Regions from separate parts of the Homo sapiens genome. Here region 1 is linked to region 2. Evidence: promoter capture Hi-C in human tissues and cell types (Jung and others, 2019). All regions are on one chromosome and are shown on one strand. Each heading gives the region's core, a stretch centred on a gene start or on the middle of the fragment in contact. The rest is flanking DNA. Distances are from core to core; before and after follow the strand shown.

What was found. The method cuts DNA at HindIII sites, captures the fragments that hold promoters and counts their contacts. A contact is called where the count stands out against the background at its distance.
Region 1: a contact is called between a fragment that was not itself captured here and the fragment with the promoter of PDS5A in region 2, in 1 of the 25 tissues and cell types used here (dorsolateral prefrontal cortex).

What each region holds. Positions count from the first base shown.
Region 1 is chr4:39,412,046-39,415,728 of GRCh38, forward strand. All of the region lies in intron 1 of KLB (klotho beta), which reads left to right. Among named protein-coding and RNA genes, the nearest start is that of MIR5591, 2.0 kb to the left of the region's middle. The HindIII fragment of the contact is 4,557 bases long and covers 1-3,683 here.
Region 2 is chr4:39,976,233-39,979,803 of GRCh38, forward strand. PDS5A (PDS5 cohesin associated factor A) reads right to left here and starts at 1,679. Exons shown (of 33, transcript NM_001100399.2): 1 at 1,225-1,679; 2 at 208-385. The coding sequence starts at 345. RefSeq lists an enhancer at 18-926 and silencers at 464-1,213, 1,264-1,903. The HindIII fragment of the contact is 8,894 bases long and covers 1-3,571 here.

The DNA.
Region 1 (3,683 bases), core at 306-2,805, 560 kb before region 2:
CTTTGGAGACTCAGAACAGGGAAGCTGGGAGAGGAGTAAGGGATAAAAAAACTGCATATTGGATACAATGTATACTCCTCTGGTGATGAGTACACTAAAATCTCAGACTTCACCGTTATACAATTCATCCGTGTAACCAAAAACCACTTGTACCCCAAAACTATTGAAATTTTAAAAATATTTTTAAAAAGAGAAATATTATGAACATTTACATTCCAAAAGGACATAAATAAATAAATATTATCTATACTCTTTACAACAATCTTGCCAGGTAACTATTATCCTCATCTTACAGTGTGATATTTTGAATATGCGTGATATTGCTCCCCTGTGTAAAATCCATTAGTGGCCCCCCCAAGCTTTGGGGATAAAGTCTCAATTTTTCACCAAGACCTTTGAGATACAGTTCCCAGCCTCCTTCCTGGCCACTCTCCCATCCTCTTGCACTTCATATTCGATCATAACACACTACTGCCAGTGTCTCAGTCTCTCCTTACTATTTCTCTCCACCCAGCCTCAACTATCCCACTCTGTCTAGCTCAAATGCCCTCTTTACTTCGTGATGGTCACTGCCTCCAAGTCATTCTTGCCCCTTTAGGATTTAAGTGCCCCTTCTGCTGGCTCCCATAAGATGGGCTTGTTTCTAGCATAGCACTCATACGACATGATACTTTTCCATCTCCCCAGCTAGACTGAGAGTTCTTTCAAAGGAGAGACAATTTTTAAATTTGCCTTTATGTTCTCAGCACCTAGCACAGAATATTTGTACATATTAGGTGTAAATGTTGGTTAAATGAATGGTTTAGGATTTCTGTCTTAAATACTGTAATCAAAAACTAATCTCAAGTTCAATCTTCATATTTCATTGCATTATTGCAAACTGTCGAAATATTACTGATATTAATCGGGTGGTATATTAGTCAGGACTTTTTTGGTGGCAAGTTACAGAAATCTAATTCAAATTGGCTAAAGCAAAAAGGGGCAATTTCCTGGCTCAGTAACCAGACCACAGGGATGAATGGGCTCAGTGACCAGGAAGGCCCTTTATTTCAGCCTCTCACGTCCATTTCTTCCTCGGGTTGTGTCATCTTCTCCTTTGTAGAGGAAAGATTTCTCTCTCCCAAGTTTAGTTTTTTCAATCCCAGAAATGTATTTGGCCTATGCAGCAAAGCCCCAAGGGTTCACATTAGTAAAGGCAGTAATGTCTGTTTTCATTCTATTTTTAAATCAATAAATACATGTAATAATTTAAATTTGTACATTTCCCTTTTAGAATGGAACATTTGAGAGTCTCTGAGTAAACATGCACAGAGGTTTGGGAAGGTGAATTTGCTCATGAGACAATAACTCATTCTGTTTATTACTCCACTAAATATTGCCAAAGCGGGGCAGAGTTGCTCCTGCCTGTAATCCTAGCACTTTGGGAAACCGAGGGAAGAAGATCCCTTGAGCCCAGGAGTTCAAGACTAACCTGAGCAACATAGTTTTGTAGAGACAAGACAAACCTTGTCTCTACAAAAAATAAAAAATCAGCTGAGAGTGGTGGCACATACCTGTAGTCCCAGCTACTTGGGAGGATGAGGTGGGAAGATCACTTAAGCCCGGGAGGTCAAGGCTGCAAGGAGCTATGATTGTGCCACTGCACTCCAGCCTGGGTGACACAGCAAAAACCTGTCTCAGGAAAAAAAAAAAATAAATAAAATAAAATAAAATAAAACAAAAAATACTGCCAGCTTTCATGACAGTTTTGACCATTTCATGACTTTAAAAATCTTTGTCTTTTACTAGTCACATTGGGTTAGGGGGAAAATGTTATCTTTCATAGATAAATACTGTTTACATAGTACAAAGATTTCTCAAACCTGGTCACTATTGACATTTGGGGTCAGATAATTCTTTGCTGTGGTAGGCTGTCCTGTGCAATGGAGGAGTTCAGCAGCATCTAAACTCTACTCACTAGATGACAGTAGCTCCCCCATTTTCAGTGTTGTGACAATCAAAAATGTCTCCAGACCTTGCCAAATGTCCCCAGGAAGTCAAAATTCCTCCCCCTCACTCCACCTTTGAAAACCACTGACTTATTCTATAGTAGACAACTGGTTAAAGACATGAAGCACAAAGAACAAGGACATTGACATGTAACCAGTATGAGGGGCATAAAAATGATTATTTTACACAATTGCCTCAAGGAGATCTTCACCAGATCTGTAAGTTGCATACAGAAACTCAAAATTAATGTACAGCCTATACTGTTTTTAGAAAAAAAAAAAAAACAGTGCTTTTAAAATGTTAAAAGAGGAAATAATATTTAATCATCAACATGATTACATCTAGTTTGGCTTTTCACATATCGAGAATAAAGACTGTCCCTCCTGGCTTTGCCTTATTTGTGAAATACTTGAAAGAGCTGCCCCAAACCATTTTTCTTATATTAAGCATTAGTTATTTCTTAACCATTAATATTTTCTTATATTAACCATTCATGAACAAAACACTAATCTTACTTTTTAAAAAAGCTTTTCCTTTTTTAAAAAGCAAAATTCGGCCAGGTGTGGTGGCTCACACCTGTAATCCCAACACTTTGAGAGGCCAAGGTGGGCACATCACGAGGTCAGGAGTTCGAGACCAGCCTGGCCAACATGGTGAAACCCCATCTCTACTAAAAATACAAAAATTAGCCAGGCGCGATGGTGGGTGCCTGTAATCCCAGCTACTCGGGAGGCTGAGGCAGGAGAATTGCTTGAACCCGGGAGGCGGAGGTTGCAGTGAGCCAAGATCATGCCACTGCACTCTAGCCTGGGTAACAGAGCAAGACTCTGTCTCAGGAAAAAAAAAAAAAAAAAAAGCAAAATTCAACTATTCAAACAAAATGTTATATAAGCAACGTTTATCCATTTTTGATGCTATAACATTGTGTTTCACAAAGTTTGGTGGGGGTTGGGTTTTTTGGTTTGTTTTTTGAGAAGGAGTGATTCTCCTGCCTCAGCCTCCCAAGTAGCTGGGATTACAGGAATGTGCCACCACTCACGGCTAATTTTTGTATTTTTAGTAGAGACGGGGTTTCACCATGTTGGCCAGGCTGGTCTCGAACTCTGGGCCTTGGGTGATAGACCCGCCTCGGCCTCTCAAAGTGTTGAGATTACAGGCGTGAGCCACTGCGCCTGTCCAAAGTTTGGTTTTTTATGTGTCACTTTATGTTCTATTTTTCTGGTTTTCTGTTTGTATACATATCTATACATATCTAAGTATCATTATGTACTATTGTTTACTAAAATATTTTTCTGTTAGAAATATATTTTGAGGCCAGGTGAAGTGGCTCATGCCTGTATTCTCAACACTTTGGGAGGTCGACACAGGAGGGTTGCTTGAGCTCAGGAGTTCGAGGCTGCAGTGAGCTGTGATCATGCCTCTGCACTCCAGCTTGGGTGATAGAGGGAGACTGCATCTCTAAAAAAATAAAAAATAAATAAAATTTCAAAAATATTTAAGTCATAAAATGCTTGTCCTTATTACATAATGAAAATAATTTAAATAATGTGCATTATTTATTAGATGGTAAAATGCCCAAATTTATGTGCATGTGTTATTAGCATTTAAAATATTTATTCTATTAATGTTTTAAATTTAAATAGGCCTTAAAATACAATAGTCAATAAAGTATATTTACATAAAATAAAGCATAT
Region 2 (3,571 bases), core at 429-2,928:
AAAAATCACACTCCTTTTAAATTTCCCACAATGGTTATATCCCTACAAAACTCACTCAAAGATGTTATCTGAGATACAACAGTACCTTTCAGAGGGGGTAAGAGATCTAAAAAACTTGGAACTTTAAAGGCCAGACTGAGCAGGGTAGCAGTATCACAGGAGAAAGCGCCTTCTACCAAAGACATCAAAATCCGTCCAGACACTTACCTTCAGGCGTTTGATCATCTCGTCCGTGGTGATCTTGTCGGTGATCTCTTTTACCCCCGGAGGGTAAGCGATCTTCCCGTCGGCACTCACGACGCCACAGAGGGCAGTGGCAGGCTTGGGCTGCGCGGTGAAGTCCATCCTGGGGGACAACTTTTGGTTCACAGTCCTCTACCGGCCTCTATCGGTCAGAAAACCAAAGTTCAGCGGGAAAGGGGCGACTTTGTAACCTCTTTTTTCATTTCAAATCTCTCTAATCTGGAAAAGGCCCTGTCTCCCCAGAGGCCGGGGACCCGGCAGCGGCCTCGCCACCCGCTCTTTCCCAGGGATCGAACCCCGCCGGCCCCGCCAACCCGGCCCTGCCAGCCCCAGGCTCACGGGGCTCCTCCGCACCAGCCGCCGTGGCCGCCGAACAGCGCCAGGAGTTTCCCATTCCGCCTTTCACAATGAAATCCACCCCCGAGCACCAGGGTCCGAAGTTTGGCGGCCCCGGGAGGCCGGCAAGGACCCCAAGGCCCCCGCTCGGCGGTGGGGAAGCACCCAGTCCCGCCCGGCCAGTCCCCTCCGGGAAACCAGACCCGAGGCCTATAGGGCTCGGCTTAGGCCGCAAAACTAGGGACCCAGCGGACCCACGCGCAGCGGCGGCTGCCGGGAACAAAACGCCCTTGCCCAGCCGAGCCTCGGACCCGGGGTAGTCCCCGCCGCGCTGCCACCCCTCCCCTGTTCCGCTCCCTCACCCCCGCGGGAGGGGAAAACAAGCCGCCCTCCACCCTCAGCCCCACGCCAGGAAGCGGCTGACGCGCCTCCGCACTTCACATTTTGTTCCTTCAACTTCGGCTGAGGGACCCCAGCTGCTTCTCTGGCCCCCGGCCGCTTGGCGCCTCCGGCACCGCCGAGGCCTTCCCGGCACCCTCGGGCGGCCCCACCGGGCCTCGGACCCGCGGCCCCCCCCTCCAGTCTCCCCTTCCGTCCCCTCCCTCCAGCAGCCTAGGGCGGGAGCCGAGCCGCCGCCGCCTTTACCTCCTCCTCATGCGGGCGGAAGGTGCATCGAGCGCCCGGGCCTCTGTCAGGTGGTTGCGCCGCCGCCCCTAGTCGGGCTGCACACAAAGCGGCTCCGCGGGTCCCGCCGCCGCCGCCGCCGCCGCCCGCCCGCCCGGGAGCGGCGCTGGGGCTGGCGGTGCCGAGGAGGAGCAGCCGCCGCGGGGGGAGACGCGGGGCGAGTGAGCGCTGGGCGGGGAGACAGTGCCGCTCTCCGTCTGGCCGAGGAAGAGCAGCCTCGAAGGCTCCTCCGGGAGTGTGTGCGCTTGTGTCCGTCCGGGACCCCCGCGGCCCGCCCGCACGCACCTCGCGCCGGCCCGGACCGCCGACTCGGACCCGGACGCCCCTCGCAGAGGCGCGCGCCCGGCCGTCCGTGCCCCGGGAGCCGGGGCCTCGCGCACACACCGGCCGGTCACGCGAGCGGCGCGAGAGCACGCGAGAGCAGCGCGCGCTCCTCGCTCCCTCCCCTTCCTCCGCCGGCCGTGCATCCGCCTCCCTCGGGCCCGAGGCGGCCGCGCGCAGGGCGGACAGCGCCGCCACCCGGTTGGCGCCAATACCTGCCGCGCGGGGCGCCTCCCGGAGGACCCGACCGGAGAGGGCGAGAGGAGGAGGAGCCCGGGTGGCGGGAAGCGAGCCCAGGTTCCCGCGGCCTTGCGAGGGCACGCAGGGCAAACAGTGCTTTATCTTTCGCAGCGGCGATGAGCTGGTGACTTTTGGGGGTCATCCTGAGGGACATAGACGAAACTGGTTGGGAGGTAGTTAATTGCTCGGTGAAAATGAACTGATTTCCTCCTCAGGGAGAGATCTGCAAAGTCAAGGAAAGTTGTGCAATGGGGCGCAGCGTGAGCGGCTCACTCTCGGGTCTTCTGACAGCCACCCGAGTTGCCCACCCTCCTTAGATTTCTGAAGTTAATATTTTGAAAGCTGCAAAACATGAAAATAGCATTGGGTCGAGTCGTTCTCAAGGTATGGTCTTTGGGCCACCAGGCCTCACAATCACTTTGGGTACTGGCTGAAAACGTAGGTTTCCAACTCCAAAGATTAAAAAACATAAAAATATATGTTTTTTTAACGTAAAAATATATATGAACATAAAACATATAAAAATATAACATATAAAATAAAACACTAAAAAATATAAAAATATACATAAACATAAAAATCTCTGAGAGTGGAACCCAGAAATAAGCATTTATTAATTGGGTGGGTGATTCTTGTAAATAAGGAAGAGCTCATTTTTTAAAAATGTTTTAAACCTACCAAGCATTAACGTTTTCTGTCATCCAAAGGAAAACCACTATCAGGTAAAAACAGTGCACGCAGCAGTGTTTGAGCAATTTAATGTATGTAATTGAAACAAATTAACGCAAGAACATACACTTACCTATTTAAAAAAAATCAAGAGCATACACAAAATTTCCGAAGAGAAAGTTGAAAAAAGGATACGATAATATGAAATCACATTCAGCTCTTGAAACTGACCACTACCATAGTTTAAAATGATATTCGATTGTTTATTCAAATTATTCTTGATGGGTACCCATTGGTCTATTTTTTTCCCACATCCTTTAACGTCAACTTAAAAATAGTAAAGGTACTGCATTTCAGCTCACTGACTTGTTTTTGACGTATTACACAAGAGCAGTCATTGCGAATCTGACACTCCACAGTTGCTGATTTGCTAGAACTCTGCCCAAAAGTCAATGCTTTGTTCTTGGGCATTTACAGTACCAGGCAGAATCCATTTAAAAGTGTCCTCATCCAAACTATTAAGTGGACCAAAAGCTGCTCTCTTTTTAGGCTCTCCCTGTCACTTTTGATATTTATTTTTTTCTTTTGAGACGGAATCTTACTCTGTCACCCAGGCTGGAGTGCAGTGGCGTGATATCGGCTCACTGCAAGCTCTGCCTCCCGGGTTCACGCCATTCTCCTGCCTCAGTCTTCCGAGTAGCTGGGACTACAGGCGCCCGCCACCACGCCCGGCTAATTTTTTTTTTTTGTATTTTTAGTAGAGACGGGGTTTCACCATGTTAGCCAGGATGGTCTCGATCTCCTGAGCTAGTGATCCGCCCGCCTCGGCCTCCCAGAGTGCTGGGATTACAGGCATGAGCCACCGCGCCCGGCCAAATTTGATATTTCTTTGTGTGTTACATTTAATTAAACAACAATGATTTTATCTTTCATCCTCCTCAGTAGCTTGCCCATTATTAAATGGAGTTTTGTATATGTACATATATTTTATTTTATTTATTTTTTATATTATTTTATTATTTTTTGAGATGAAGTCTCACTTTGTCGCCCAGACTGCAGTGCAGTGGCATGATCTCGG